2 separate regions of the Homo sapiens genome follow, and region 1 is linked to region 2. Evidence: promoter capture Hi-C in human tissues and cell types (Jung and others, 2019). All regions are on one chromosome and are shown on one strand. The core of a region is centred on a gene start or on the middle of the fragment in contact, and the rest is flanking DNA. Distances in the headings are between cores, read along the strand shown.

Evidence for each region. The method cuts DNA at HindIII sites, captures the fragments that hold promoters and counts their contacts. A contact is called where the count stands out against the background at its distance.
Region 1: a fragment that was not itself captured here is called in contact with the fragment with the promoter of SIM1 in region 2 in 1 of the 25 tissues and cell types used here (lymphoblastoid cells).

The regions. Positions count from the first base shown.
Region 1 is chr6:100,059,834-100,067,242 of GRCh38, reverse strand. All of the region lies in intron 2 of MCHR2-AS1 (MCHR2 antisense RNA 1), which reads right to left. Among named protein-coding and RNA genes, the nearest start is that of MCHR2, 69 kb to the right of the region's middle. The HindIII fragment of the contact is 3,549 bases long and covers 1-3,248 here.
Region 2 is chr6:100,462,219-100,469,104 of GRCh38, reverse strand. It overlaps SIM1 (SIM bHLH transcription factor 1), which reads left to right and starts at 4,184. Exons shown (of 12, transcript NM_005068.3): 1 at 4,184-4,491; 2 at 5,170-5,811. The coding sequence starts at 5,637. RefSeq lists an enhancer at 861-1,452. The HindIII fragment of the contact is 4,452 bases long and covers 1,819-6,270 here.

The DNA of each region.
Region 1 (7,409 bases), core at 225-2,724, 400 kb after region 2:
TAATGATGAAACCCTGGACTTGGACAACACTTTAGATTAAATGAACCTAACAGACACTCATGGAACATTCCATCCAACAACATAATACACATTCTTCTCAAGAGCACACAAATCTTTCTCCAGGAGAATTTATAAGTTAGGCTACAATACAAGTCTTATCAAATTTAAGAATATTAAAATCATATCAAATATCTTTTTCAACCACAATAATATAAAACTATCTTTTATATTAGGATTTTCAGAAGATTAGCAAATACATGAAAATTAAGTAACATGCTCTTGAACAACAAATGGGTCAATGAAGAAATTAAAAGGGAAATTTAAAAATATGTCAAGATAAACAAGAAATGAAGACACAACATCCCAAAACTTACAAGATGCAACAAAAGTGGTTCTAAGAGGAAAGTTAATAGTAATAAATGTCTATGTCAAAAAAGAAGAAAGGTCTCAAATAAACAACTTAACATTATGCCTCAAGGAAACAGAAAAAAGAACTACCTACACCCAATGTTAGCAAAAGAAAGGAGAAAATAAGGATCAGAAAAATTATACAAAAGATCAATCAAATTGAGAGTTCGTTTGTGAAAAGATAAACAAAATGGACACCTTTTAGCTAGACTAACAAAAGAAAAAAAAGACTCAAAGTCAGAAATGTAAGTGGAGACATAACTGACACTACAGAAATATGAAGAATTATAAGAGATTTTTATGGACAATTATATGCCCCCAAATTTCATAACCTAGGAGAACTGGATAAATACCTGGAAACATACAACCTGTCTAGACTAAATAATTAAGAAATAGAAAATCTGAACAGAGCAATAACAAGTGAATAAGTAAAAAAAAAAAAAAAAAAAAAAACCGTTTCCTGTTAAAGAAAAGCACAGGACCTGATGGATTAACTGCTGAATTCTATCAAACATTTAAAGAACTACTACCAATCCTCCACAATCTTTTCCACAAAAACAGAAGATGGTGGAATACCTCCACACTTTTTCATGAAGCCAGCGTGACTCTGATACAAAAGCCAGATAAAAACATCACAAGAAAAGAAAGCTACAAGCCAATATCCTTGATAAACATACATGCAAAAATACTCAACAGGATACTAGCAAACTGAATTCAACAACACTTTAAAAGGGTCGTTCACCATAATCCGGGGGATTTATCCCTTGAAGGCAAAGATGGTTCAATGTTTACAAATCAATAAATGTGATACACCACATTAAAAGAATGAAGTACAAAAATAATATAATCATCTCATTAGATGCAGAAAAAGCATTTGAGAAAATTCAACATTCTTTCATGAAAAAAGTACTCAGCAAATTCGGTATATAAAGGATGTACTTCAGCCCAAAAGGTTAAAAACATGCAAACACATTTTTAAGTACAAAATTCCAGAACGAAAATAGTCTTGAGAGTGTATTTATTTCCTCACAATTTGATGTTGATTTTAAATAATAGCATTTATAGTTTCCTATTCTTGAGTTGTTGAATAGAAGCTTACCTGGGGTAATCAAAAGTGGTGAGACAGAAGGAAGCCTCTGGCCTTCATTTCTATTTAAAAATTAAGCACAAAGGCCACTTTGCAAAGGGTGGCTTTCTATCAGAATAAGCCACTTTATACTCCATCATTTGTGCATTGTACTGTGTAGTATGATGTTGAGCTTATCATTTCAACACTTGTGGTGTGGAAGGAGCTGATAAGAATTTTCCCTTTCATTAATCTTATGTTAAAATGCCTGATTCAGGCAGGGTACAGTGGCTCATGTCTGTAATCCCAGCACTTGGGGAGGCCAAAGTGAGCAGATTACTTGAGCTTGGGAGTTCGAGATCACCCTGGGCAATAGGGAGAAACCTGATCTCTATTAAAAAAATACAAAAATTAGCTGGGCATGGTGGTGCATATGGGTAGTCCCAGCTGCTTGGGAGGCTGAGGTAGGAGTATTACTTGAGCCCAGAAGGTCAAGGCTGCAGTGAGCAGAGATCATGCCACTGGACTTCAGCCTGGGTGACAGAGAAAGACCATGTCTTTAAAAAAGCCTAATTCAAATAATAAACATTCAGCATCTACATTTCACAGTTTCTTAATGAACAAGGAACATTAATAGAAGAATTGTTGGATGTGAACATACTAACAAATAACCTTTAAATATTGTGATCACAAACACCAATAACTATTAAGTATTGATTAAAATGCAATCAAAGAGTCATAAACCTAAAAGTTTACCAGAAGACTTTGATACCCTGAAGTATCCGGAGCTCTCTGCCCTCTTTAACATTTCGTTTTGTTATTTCCATCAAAATCTTTCCTATATAAATCCCATTTCATTCTCTTTGATTTCTTGTAAATAAGCAGAAAAACTCAGTTTGCTTCTGATAAAAATCTCCTTATATATTTCACAAAGGCATAAAAAAATCATCATTTAATTGATCTTTTTTTTTTCTTCATGACACCTAAGTTTCACTAGAGTATGGCTGGTGTAATCTTATCATGATCTACAGTTCATTTGAGTAATAACCCCAAATATGTGTTTTCACTTTTGTAAGTGATTTATAGCTTGCATTGAAGGCCCAGTGGTGTTGAATTTTTCCATCGTTATGCCTCTTATAGAGATTAAGGGTCCTATTTCTTTCAATTCTTTTTGAGGAAGGGAAAAAAGAAAGAAGGAATGAACATATTGAGTGCTTGTATGTTAGGCATTGTGCTGGATGTTTTCACAATTCCTCCTGCTTAATTGTCCCAACAAATGACTGAAATGGTTATTATTTTCTTCATTTTGTGAGAAAACAAAGAATTAGAGTTATGTAAGTTGTTGAATATTGCACAGTTATTAAAAAGCAGGGGCTGAATTTCAGGCCTGTAATATCATGAGTTCATAACACGAGTGAAATCCAACTCTTGGAATATGAAATTCCAGATGTAGCTAATACTCATTGCAAAATTGATACCTCCAAAACACCTGTTCAATCCCCCTTGTACTTTCTGGCATTGCACACCTTCTACATTAGTACATATACTTAAAGAAAAACAACATTGACTTACAATATCAAAACAACTTTATGCAAATATTCTGCTATACACAAGATCCACAATTAAGAAGTTTTTTAAGAAAAAGAATAGTTTTGTTGCATGAGATTTCACTGGTAGAGCTAATATTCAGTGAAGTGTGAACAATAGAAAGCACAGACAAGACTTTCAGGAAGAGGTCACTCTTCATAGAGTGTTTAATAGGTGCAAGTGTTTGATTCTAACCTACACATTCTATAGCTTTAACGGGAATTTTTGCATAAATAACTCTGATCATAACATTGTGGGGGTGCATAAAATAGTAAACAGGTCCTCCAACCTGGGTTGTGGGTAACTAAAAGATCTTCCAGGGTGGAAGTGGGAAAGGTGGGGGTTGGAAGTATACATTTAGGATAATAGAGAATGGGAAAGATGAGGTTGGCAAGGGGCACGGCATGACAAATGGAAATATCATGACCATAGGTAAGGATGACTAACTCATGTTAAAGATGCCCTCTGTTATTTGAGGAAAAAGGCAAAAATTAAATGAAGGGCCTAATAATTCATTTTTCGAAGCCAGAATATAGTGATATAATACCATAACATTTACTAAGAGAAAGCAACATGAAGATTCTGCTTTAGAGACCTTGATTTTTAAAAAGAATGGTGAGATAAAGAGAGAGCACATTTGGGTTGAAACCTTTTAACATAAGCTAGTCTGGCTCTGGAAAAAAAATAATTTCTATCCATTTTCTATTCAGTTCCTGAAAAGAGGATGCAATTTCACAAGTATTATATGAATTCTTAATAGTTGCATGTCTAAATAATTTTGTATATTTAAGAGGTAATTACAAGTGTTGCTGGAAGAGCTTTTTGCTTTGATTTTTGAAATATGTATGGTTATTGTGAGAAATTTAAGCAATATGAAATAATGTAGAAAGTGAAATTAACCTCTGTACCACTTCCCAGGCCTCTAATGCATAGCTTCAAGAAGTTAACACTGCTAACTCTTTGACAAACATCTGTTATGCAACTAGCTTTATTTTCTACTTAATATTTTTCTTTCCATGTGAGTACAGACAAGTTCTCATTCTTCTTAACAGCTATGTGATACTCCATAACATGTACCATAAGTGGATTGTAATATTTACATACCAATTATGTATCAAATATTTTTAACCTCTTAATGAGCCTTTAGATTGTCTCCAATCTAAAGATTGTTCGCTATGGCAAACAATCTTGTATACGCGTGGAATTTTGACATGTCATTTAAAAAAATTCTAAGGAGTAATTTTGGCAAGTTTTCTTTGGTGCTATTATGAAAGCTAAATTCCTTTGTTTGGGATTCCATTAATAAACTTAATGGCTGTAGGACAGTCATTTAGGAAATGTGATTAAGTAGCAAGCAAAGGAGGCTTTCAGCATGAGTGCATGTGAATACGTAATAAATTTCCACATGAGAAATTTTAGAGAATGAACCAGGTAGCTCTGTGACTATGGATTAAAAACCACATTTGGGAATTGTCTGTCAAACACATCAAAGCATTCTGCATTAGTTACTTACTGGGGTTAGCAGAAGAAATGATTGCTGCTGCTTTCTTTTATGTCTTGGATGAAAGGGGAGCATAGAGGTAGATTTTGGTGCCTCTCTCCTTATGCCATCGAATTTATTTTGTTTGGAATTATGTAGTGCTTGAAAAAGCACATTATTCCATTGAATAATGTTTTAGACTTACACACTGATAACTCAGTATTTTAGTAAAATAAACTTAAAATCTATTTTTAAATGAAAAGGCATAAACGTATTTGTTTATGTACATAGATATCTGTAAAAGTGGCTTTTAAGAATCCTAGTACACTACAAGAAAACATTGAGGTCAATCTCCAGGACATCGGTCTGGACAAAAATTTCCTGAGGAATACTCCACAAGCACAGTCAACCAAAGCAAAAATGGACACATGGAATCACATTGAGTTAAAAAGCTTCTGCACAGCAAAGGACACAATCAACAAAGTGAAGAGACAACGCACAGAATGGGAGAAAATATTTGCAAACTACCCTTCTGACAAGAGATTAATAGCCAGAATATATAAGGAGCTCAAACAACCCTATTGGAAAAAATCTAATAACCTGATTAAAAAATGGGCTAAAGATTTGAATAGACATACAAATGGCAAACAGGCATATGAAAAGGTGCTCAATGCCATTGATCATTAGAGAAATGTTAAGTCAAAACTACAATGAGATATCGTCTTACCCCAGTTCAAATGGCTTTCATCCAAAAGACAGATAATAGCAAATGCTGGAGAGGATGTGAAGAAAAGGGAACCCTCATGCACTGTTCACGGGAATGTAAGTTAGTGCAAGCACCATGGAAAACAGCTCCAAACGGAGCTTTCTCAAAAAACGAAAAATAGAGCTCCCATATGACCCATCAATCCCACTGCTGGGTATGTACCCAAATGAAATTAAATCAGTATATTAAAGAGATATCTGCACTCCCATGTTTGGTGTAGCATTGCTCACAATTGTCAAGATTTGGAAACAACATAACTGTTCATTAACAGATGAATAGATAAAGAAAATATTGTACATGTACACAATAGAGTACTATTCAAACATAAAAAAATGAGATTTGCAACAGCATGAATGGAACTGGAGGTCATTATGTTAAGCAGAATAAGCCAGACACAGAAAGACAAACATTGCAAGTTCTTCTTTATTTGTGGGATCTAAAAATCAAAATAATTAAATTCATGGAACTCATGGAACAGAGAGAGTAGAAGGATGGTGAACAGACGCTGGAAGGGTAGGTGGAGGTGTTGGAAGGAGGTAGGGATGTTTACTGGGTACAAAAAATAGAATGAATGAGTAAGATCTACTATTTGATAGCACAACAGGGTGATTACAGTCAATAATAACTTAGTAGTACATTTTAAAGTGACAAAAAGAGTATAATTAGATTATTCATGGCATAAAGGATAAATGCTTGAAGGAATGGATGCCCCATTCTCCATGATGTGATTATTATACATTGCATGCCTGTATGAAAACATTTCATTTCTTCCATAAATGTATACACCTGCTATGTACCCACAAAAATTAAAAATTAACAAGAAAGATTCCTAGCATTCTAGAACTGGAAAAAAATTGTGAGGATCATTTAGTCAGTATACTATGGAGAAAATGAAGTCCCGAAAGGCTAAGATAGTTGCCTTAGGTCGTACAGTCAGTGTATAGCACAGGTTGCACCAGAATCCAGACACATGTACCTAGTCTAGTGTCTTTTTCGTCATTCCATTTGCATGAAAAGAATAATTGATAAAAATAAACAAATTGACCATTGTTAGTTTCTTTGCACTTACAGAGCCAGACATGAAGGGGAGTTGATCGATCTTTGGTTTATGTAATCAATGATGACAAACTCTGAGTCTAGTATTGGGCCTGGATGGTCCTGATTTGTGACTGACTGAAGAGGCTACCCTACCTGTCCTGCACTCCACATCGACACTCCCACCCAGGGCAAAATGCAGCTGCAAAATGCCAATGTCTTATATCCATTGTTGGGCTCCAGCATAATTAGCAGCTGCCCAAATAATTAACTATTTATTAACAAGCAGGCTGTATGGAAGATTACTTAAGGAGAAATAAAGCCTGAGCCATTGTGACCCTTATTATTGCTGAGGGTGGCTCTGCTCTGTAAGAAGTTCTGTCCATAAGATAGATAATTTGGAAATACCAAGAGAAATCCAAAGTAATTGTACTTTAAAACAATAAAAACAGATGATTTAACAAGGCAAATAATCCCATAGGCCATCATGATTTTTCCTGAATCCCTTATTTAATTTCTAGGTTTTTCTCCTCAACTTGAGGTGATAGATTTTCACATTACTCCACTGCCCACTCTGACACGCAAATAACAATTGAAAGCAGGACCTAGGGTATTCAGAGTAGTATTTCTTAACTCATATCAAACTTCATCCTCCACTATCTAATGTATCCACCGTCAATCTCAAAAATGAGGAGATGATGGAGAAAACAAGGGACAAAGTACATAAAATCCCTATTCTGGGAAATGACAGTAACATTTCTATTTAGCTAGAGAAACTTTACTCGTTCTTCAACGTGCAATTCAAATGTTATCTCCTCAGTAATAAATCTTTGACTTCTCTTTTATCAATTACTTCTACACTATGGTTTCCATTGTATTTGTATGTACATTAGGGTCCTCTTACATTTTATAAAAAACATATGGTTCTCTATCTCCCGTAATTATGAATTTCTTGAGGACATAAAATTGTGTCTATCAATGTTTGCCTATAGCTTATTACACAGCAGGTAATGAGCAAATGTGTGTTAAATTTCTACAATCCGCTTTGTGTCATCTGATTTGGTCAG
Region 2 (6,886 bases), core at 2,935-5,434:
CACACACAGCGTCCTCCGCTCGATTTCTGGAAAAGAAAAGTGTGAAAGCGCAGGCACCTGGAGCGGCAGGCACCCACCTGCTCCCATCCTCAGAATGCACAGAATCAGACCTCTTTCCAGCTAGCAATTATATTTTAAAATAATTATATTCTTTAAAGCTTAAAATTTATGTCTGCAAATACAGTGGTGCACAATTCAAGAAGCACTTATTTCCCAGCGGCCGTTCAAGGTTATATATTAGACCACGGTTTCCAATATCTGGAAAATTAACCAGAATATTTAGAGAAACTATATGAAACCCTTACTTGTATTCGCCAATCTCATTTTCCAACTTGGTGCATTTTCTTTTTTTCTTTCTTTCTTTTTTTCCAGTGTGTAACCACTGAAGTGAATTTGGGGGTATTTCACGGGTCAATTTAGGGAGACAACTGAAAAGCAGTACCTAGGAAAAGGGTTTTTTTATATTTATATACATAAAATATACTTTTCAAAACGTCCTGATCAGACAAGTAATATTTACCATAACTTCTAAATAGTAAATATGACCATATTTTGGGGGGCTCCTTCTACACTTTGTTTAGGGTCAAGGCTACAAGTGGCCCTTGTTTCTGCCTCAACATCATAACGACTCTCAGAGATGTAAATGTCTAAATGTGGTAAAAATAAATGAGTCTAGGACAGGATTACGTTAACTAATATACTTGGAACTAGAAAATGTTAATATTTCCTAAGACAATAATATGTCCCTAGATAACTTGTCCTTTTCAGTGACAGAGTGAACATCTGGATGTAACATACTGAGATGTTCGAGTGACCATCTTCAGATTTTGTATCTTGGTTATAAATATATCCTTCATCCTGACCTTGGACATTGAGCAAAATCCATGTGTGTGTGCTTTGTGCAACTGTGCATGTGGGATGTGCGAGCATGCAAAAGTGTATGTGTGCGTCCCTAGCAGTCTGCAAAAAAATAAAGAGAATGGTGGTGGACAGAAATCATTCTAGTTTTGATAAGATGCTCAAACAGCCTGGAGCAAAGAAGAGTCATTAGAGGAGTTTTTGGAAGGCAGGGTGGAGGTCTGTGCCAGAGCAAGGGTCGGGGGCCGAGGCATTGAACCCCGGTTCGGCGGTTTGCACCGGAATTCCAGTATGTGTTCACTCGTTCTTTTACAACCGAAAGTTCACCTTCTGTAGTCTTGATTTTGCCTTTTGCGGGGAGGGGTCAGAAGGCCCTTGAGGTGCCCGCTCCCCCTTCTTTCTGGGTGCGCGCGGCATGCTAGACATTGCTCACAAAGGCGCGTTGGTTCCAGAATCTACCCGGCCTGGCTCCCCTGGGGTAGAGTCACGGACGCCTGCATGTCCTGGCCTCCGGGGTCCGGGGCAGGCTCCATGAGGGCAGCATCCTGGGTTGCCCCAGAAGTGGCAGGGACTCTTGGGGGAACAGTGTCGCCATCACACTAGGCTGTTCGCCCTGCTTGGTGGGGGAAGGAGGGAGACACTTTTTTGCAGCCCCGCATGGGTTTTCTCCCACATCAGGATCGCATTCTGGGTGCCTGAGGGCCAGAGGCTAGGTTTTAAGGCCACCGGCTCAAGGAGGTGGCGGCCTAGACTCTATAAGGATCTCTATTTGGGGTTAGTGGGTCGCCCGTGACCGTCTCTTCCTTTCTGGGGCTTTTCTCCTTATATTGGCAAAACGATTAGTCTCTGAGCTTCAAGAAATTCATTTAAAATTTCCCGTGCTAGAGGCGAACGTAAATTCGCAGAACACGTGGGAGGCACCTGAGGTTCCGGTTCACGGTTCACGCCTCCGGCTACAGGGCGCGTGGGGGGCTGGCAGGCGGGGTCGTGGGGAGGGTGCAAAGCCAGGTCCCTGGGCCCGGGAGGGGGAGTGAAGGAGCAGCGTTCCGGCTCCAACCTAGGTTCAAAGATTAGAAAAACAGGTGTTACGTCGTCATGCTAATTCACTCTCTCGGTAAACGCGGCTCAGACAGTTGTGTGCTGAGGACTTAGCGAGAGGCCGTCACCTCGTGGTCGTGCATTCACTTTGTTTATTAAACGACATCTACTTGGCTCATTGACAACTGAGCTTCACTGGGACATTGGAACAGCCCGCCCAGCCCCCCAGGACGTCAGCCTTAAGCGTGAAGACTTCCTTACTCATTTTGCCCATCTTGCTTCTGAAGGCAAAATTACTGCATTTTTTCTTCTGGAAACCCAGCATTACCTGACTCCCTACCTCCACCCCCCGGAAGTCCCTGCTGTGGACACAGGTTTCAAACCCCAGAGAGGCACTTCCACACCGGCATGTTGTTTTAAGTAGAGATAGGGTTAGAGTAACCGCGGTCTTGACTGAAATCCTCTCTAGAACACAGTCGAATGGAAAACCTCCTCTTAACCCTAAGTGTCATTGCTTCGCCTGGCAGCTATATGTGACCTGGTTGGAGGGGAGAGGAGGGTCAAGAAAGGTTATTTCCCCTCTCCACACGCACCCTCCACCCCCGACTTTACATGTAGTAGCCAACTTGACCTTATCTGATCTTTCTGGAATCTTGTGTATAAGTGAGCCACAGTGCATCTCTCGCTATCTTCTAGCTATGTCTTGTTAAAAGCGCATCATTGGGTGGTTGGAAGGCGCCCAGAACCAGATCTCTAAGTGGCTACAGCCACTGGGGAAATGACTCCTCCTAGATTAGAGTCCATTAGCTGGATTCCAGTTTTGAAAGACCTACAAAATCTCCGTGCTTCTTTCTTTTTCTTTCTATCCAAAACTTTCACCTCCTCCAGCCAGGTGTTGCCCAGATATGTAAATAACACCAGAAAGCTGCTGTTGTCCTTCTACGACTATCTTACTGCCATCGGGCGGCAAGGAGGTGGCAGATGTCTGTATTTTTGAACAAACACTCTTAAAGTTGTTCTGAATATCAGCAGAATGGCACACACCCCTCTTCAAAGTATTTATTTTCTCAGTGGCAATTAGCGCCACAAACGAGAGGATGAGTGCCCCGTCACTGGTGTTCTCACTGATTTTTATGGTAGATGAAACAACTCCCTCCAAACGCACCTCTAGGAGCCGAATCTGGTCACCGGCGTACCAAAACCAAGCCGGGAGTCGAGTCTGTAGGGGGTGATTCGTGAGGACAACAATTGTTTTTGGGACAATTTGACTTTTTCTTGATGCTACCTGTTGTGTTTTCTCAGATGAGAGAAAGAGAAGGCGGTTCAAATTAGAGGGTCTCTAAAAGATAATTAGTCAGCAAGAGTCCTGGTGAGCGTTTGTTTAAACAGCTCCTATTAGGGAACCGCGAGCATCGTTAAGTTCATTCATGTAGACTGTATCCTTTCTGTAAGGAATAATCATGTTGGACTTTTGTTTCCTGAAACAAAACCCGACAAAGAGTTGGCTAATGTTTAAGATAAAGGACTGTTGGGAGCTATGTATCTCTATATCAATCATTCTATTTTGCCCTGAAATGTAAGCTTTTCCCCTAGTGTCCCCCTAGCTGCTCCCCATAGGAAAACTCCCCGGCCGAGTTTCCACGGTGAAAAAAATCAGCCCCAAACCCAAGCCATTTCGAAAAAGACGCACTTCTTTGGGATTAATTTAAAGACAGTTATTGTATTTATTTCCTCTGGCAATGAATTCCGTGTCGCCATGGTTTCAGAGAAACGAGAAAGAGAAAATAACTCCCCAAACCGGCCTCGCGCACGCCGTCGGCCAGCGACTGCCAGCGGGATGGGCCTTTGGGCGAACCCTGCCTCCTCCGCCGGTAGACCTAACCCGCAGGCCCGACCTCCGCTGCCTCCGGACGTTCCCGGTTCTGCTGGGCCGCCGCGCTGGACTGAGCGCTCAACCACCCGACCCCAGGGAGCTCGAGGAGCGCGGGTCGCGCACGACGTCGGGAAGGCCCAGGAGGCCGCGAGCAGCGGCGGCAACCGGACAGCGCCGACCCGGCACCCTGAGCTCATTAGGAGTCCAGCGGTCCCGCGGGTAGTAAGATTCAGAGCCCGGAGCCTGGGCGCGCGGAGGGCGGCTCGGGGCCGACTCGTGTCACTCAGCCCTATTGGCCAATGAGCGCCTCGCCCCTGGCCGCGCCAGGCCAATGGGAGGCGAGGGGGCTTGTGAGTGGCATTGAGGGAGGGCGGGAGAGAGGCGGCCCCGGAGTGAAGTTGAAGCTAAACCCTTAAGCTATAAAGAAGTTACGGGGGGCAGTTTTCGGCTTCCAATTAGGAATAATAGTGAACTGGCTTCGTAGCAACTACGGAGGACCAGGATTCTAAAATCACCTCACTCGTCCCAAAGCTTGCATCCTCCTCTTTCTGCCACGCACCCCTCCTCCAATTCATGATCCAGAAAAGGGAGCCGGGAATGCTCTGCTCCTCTCTGCCGGTGGGAAGCGGAGAGGCCGGCGGTGTCGCTGGGTTGGACGGTAGGCATGAGAACAGTTAAGAGATGGGCGCCCCCGAAACCTCTGCCGCTTGTGGGGACTGAAGGTAGGTGAAGCAGAAGACGCCCCGCGCCCGCCCAGCAGCCCCGCAGCTCCGCGGTGGTGTGGGAGAGGCCGCGGCGCCTCCCACCCCCGGGGGAGCCTGCGAGGGGCTGTCGCGAGCGCGCCACCTGTTAACCTGGCGCTGCTGGGCCCCGCTTGTTGCAGCCCCTGCTGGGCAGCCAGAGCGCTGGGTCGCCTTGGGAGTCCCGAGAGACTTGGTGTGTAAGTGTCACTTTTTGAGGAATCCCTCAGACTTGAGACCCAAGTTAAAGAGGTAGCCAAGGTCCAGATCTGCCAAGGTAGGGAGCTGAAAGGCCCCTGCCTCGCCTTGGAGGAATTCTGATTTGCGGAAACCTGCTTTCCTGGGACGTGCGCCCGGCCTGGGCGCGGACTCGGGGATCCGCGGCGGAAGATCCCTTGCGGGTCTTCAGAAATATGTATTTTGTTGTTTGGGCAACTTCCCAGGGGTCTGGAGGATGCGGCTGGCATGGGTGAGGGAATGCCAGCATTATTTGCAGGGGGCTGTCTCGCTGCCGATTTACCCGTTTCTTTAAAAACAAACCCAAAACGCCTGGCTAGGCGCACTGAGGCCCTTTCCGGCCGTGTTTTTGGAATTGGGACGAGTGTGTGAGTACTTGTGGAGCCGCTGATCTCTTATGCTCTGATGCTGTTGTCTTCACAGGGCCTTGAAAGAGTTGTCTGGGGTTCCTGCTCTTCCCAAAGGGGCTCGGAGATACCTTAAATGCCGCGAGACTGAAGAGCAAACGTCAGGGATTATTATGTCGATTTTCCGAGGACCAGGGTTCGCAGCTGGCAGTAGAAGAAAAGGCTGGCTCCTCAGGGGTCCCACTGGCATTTGATACCCTGAACGACCCTCAGGATTGCCCAAATTCGGTGGATCGCCCAAATTCGGTGGATCAGCAACTTTCCTATACTGCATCCCGAATTTTCAAAGAACATATTTTCCGTTCACCCCCGCTGGTCTTTTACTGCCATCAATACACTGTTCTTGGTGCAAATACTTCAGCCTCTTTATTCAAAGTATGTTTTATGTTTTTGCCAAATATGATCTCTAATTGAAAGTTTATTTTTGGTTTTGGATGAATCTGCGGAGCTTAAGTTGTGAGAAGAAAGGGGGAACAAGACACAATGAAAGAAAAGTCCAAAAATGCTGCGCGGACTAGGAGGGAGAAGGAAAACAGTGAATTTTATGAACTGGCTAAATTACTGCCTTTGCCCTCGGCTATCACCTCGCAGCTGGACAAAGCATCCATAATCAGACTCACGACCAGCTATCTCAAAATGAGAGTGGTGTTCCCAGAAGGTAAGTGACTTTGCCCAGATGGAATTTCAAAGGCAGAAGGGGCCGGGGATTTGCCAGGCAATGAGCCGACATCAGTGACCAGAGAAATGCATACATATTTACATATATATTTTGCAAAGGGAAGTTTAGCTCGGCTGCTTCACTAAGGTCCTCACTGAACTCAGAATTTCTGTCGCTTTTTTGAGGCTCCCTCTACCTCCCCATCAATACTTTCTCTTCAGTCCATCAGATATGTTTGGTTGGGAAGCAGCCCAACAGTCCTTTTGTCAACACTTCAGATACTAGGCTCAATTGAAAGTACTACTAATCCAAACATGACTTTCTTTTTTACTCCTCTTGTTAGAATTTTGTCCAGTAAAAACCAGGAGCACCGCCTAATTCTGTATTTTTTTTTTGCCAGGTGTGGATAGACCCATGTACCTGGAGCTAGATAGGCCAGATAATAATTTCTCTATATATCTAAAGATTTGCAAATGAGTAACATGCATATTTGTGAACAAGTATGCCTGAATTTACTCAAGTTCTTAAATAAATTCTAAGCAAATTTATTCCGAGTTTTCAAGACATTCGCAGATTCTGAAACTAACTCTGGAGCTTGATGATTTGCAACTGTGGGCTTGATGTTATCTGTAAGATAATAGGCTAGTCCTAAAATACATAAGATTGAATTAAGATGGCTAGCCCGCTTAGAAAATATCTTCTGGGTGGCAGGTTGGCAAATAGATCCTGAGAAAATTGTCTTATAAGGCCTAGAAGTTAGAATAGCTGAGCTGTTGACATGATTTAAAACTCATATTTAGATTATCAAGATTCACTGTGTGAGGACAGAGCAGCTTTCATAGAACACTGTCCTATATACAACCATTTATACTTACTAGAAAAGGACACTTTTCTATTTGTCCATCTTTTCCTTTACTTGGATTCAAATAATGCAAACAGATTTTTAAAAATATTTTAGATATGTCTTTGCTGGGGGAAGGGGATTCAGAAATGTAAAAGAGGGATTACTGAACAAGCAAACAAACAAAAATCCAAGGGAAAGAATTGTGTTTATTTACAAATGAGAACTTCTGAT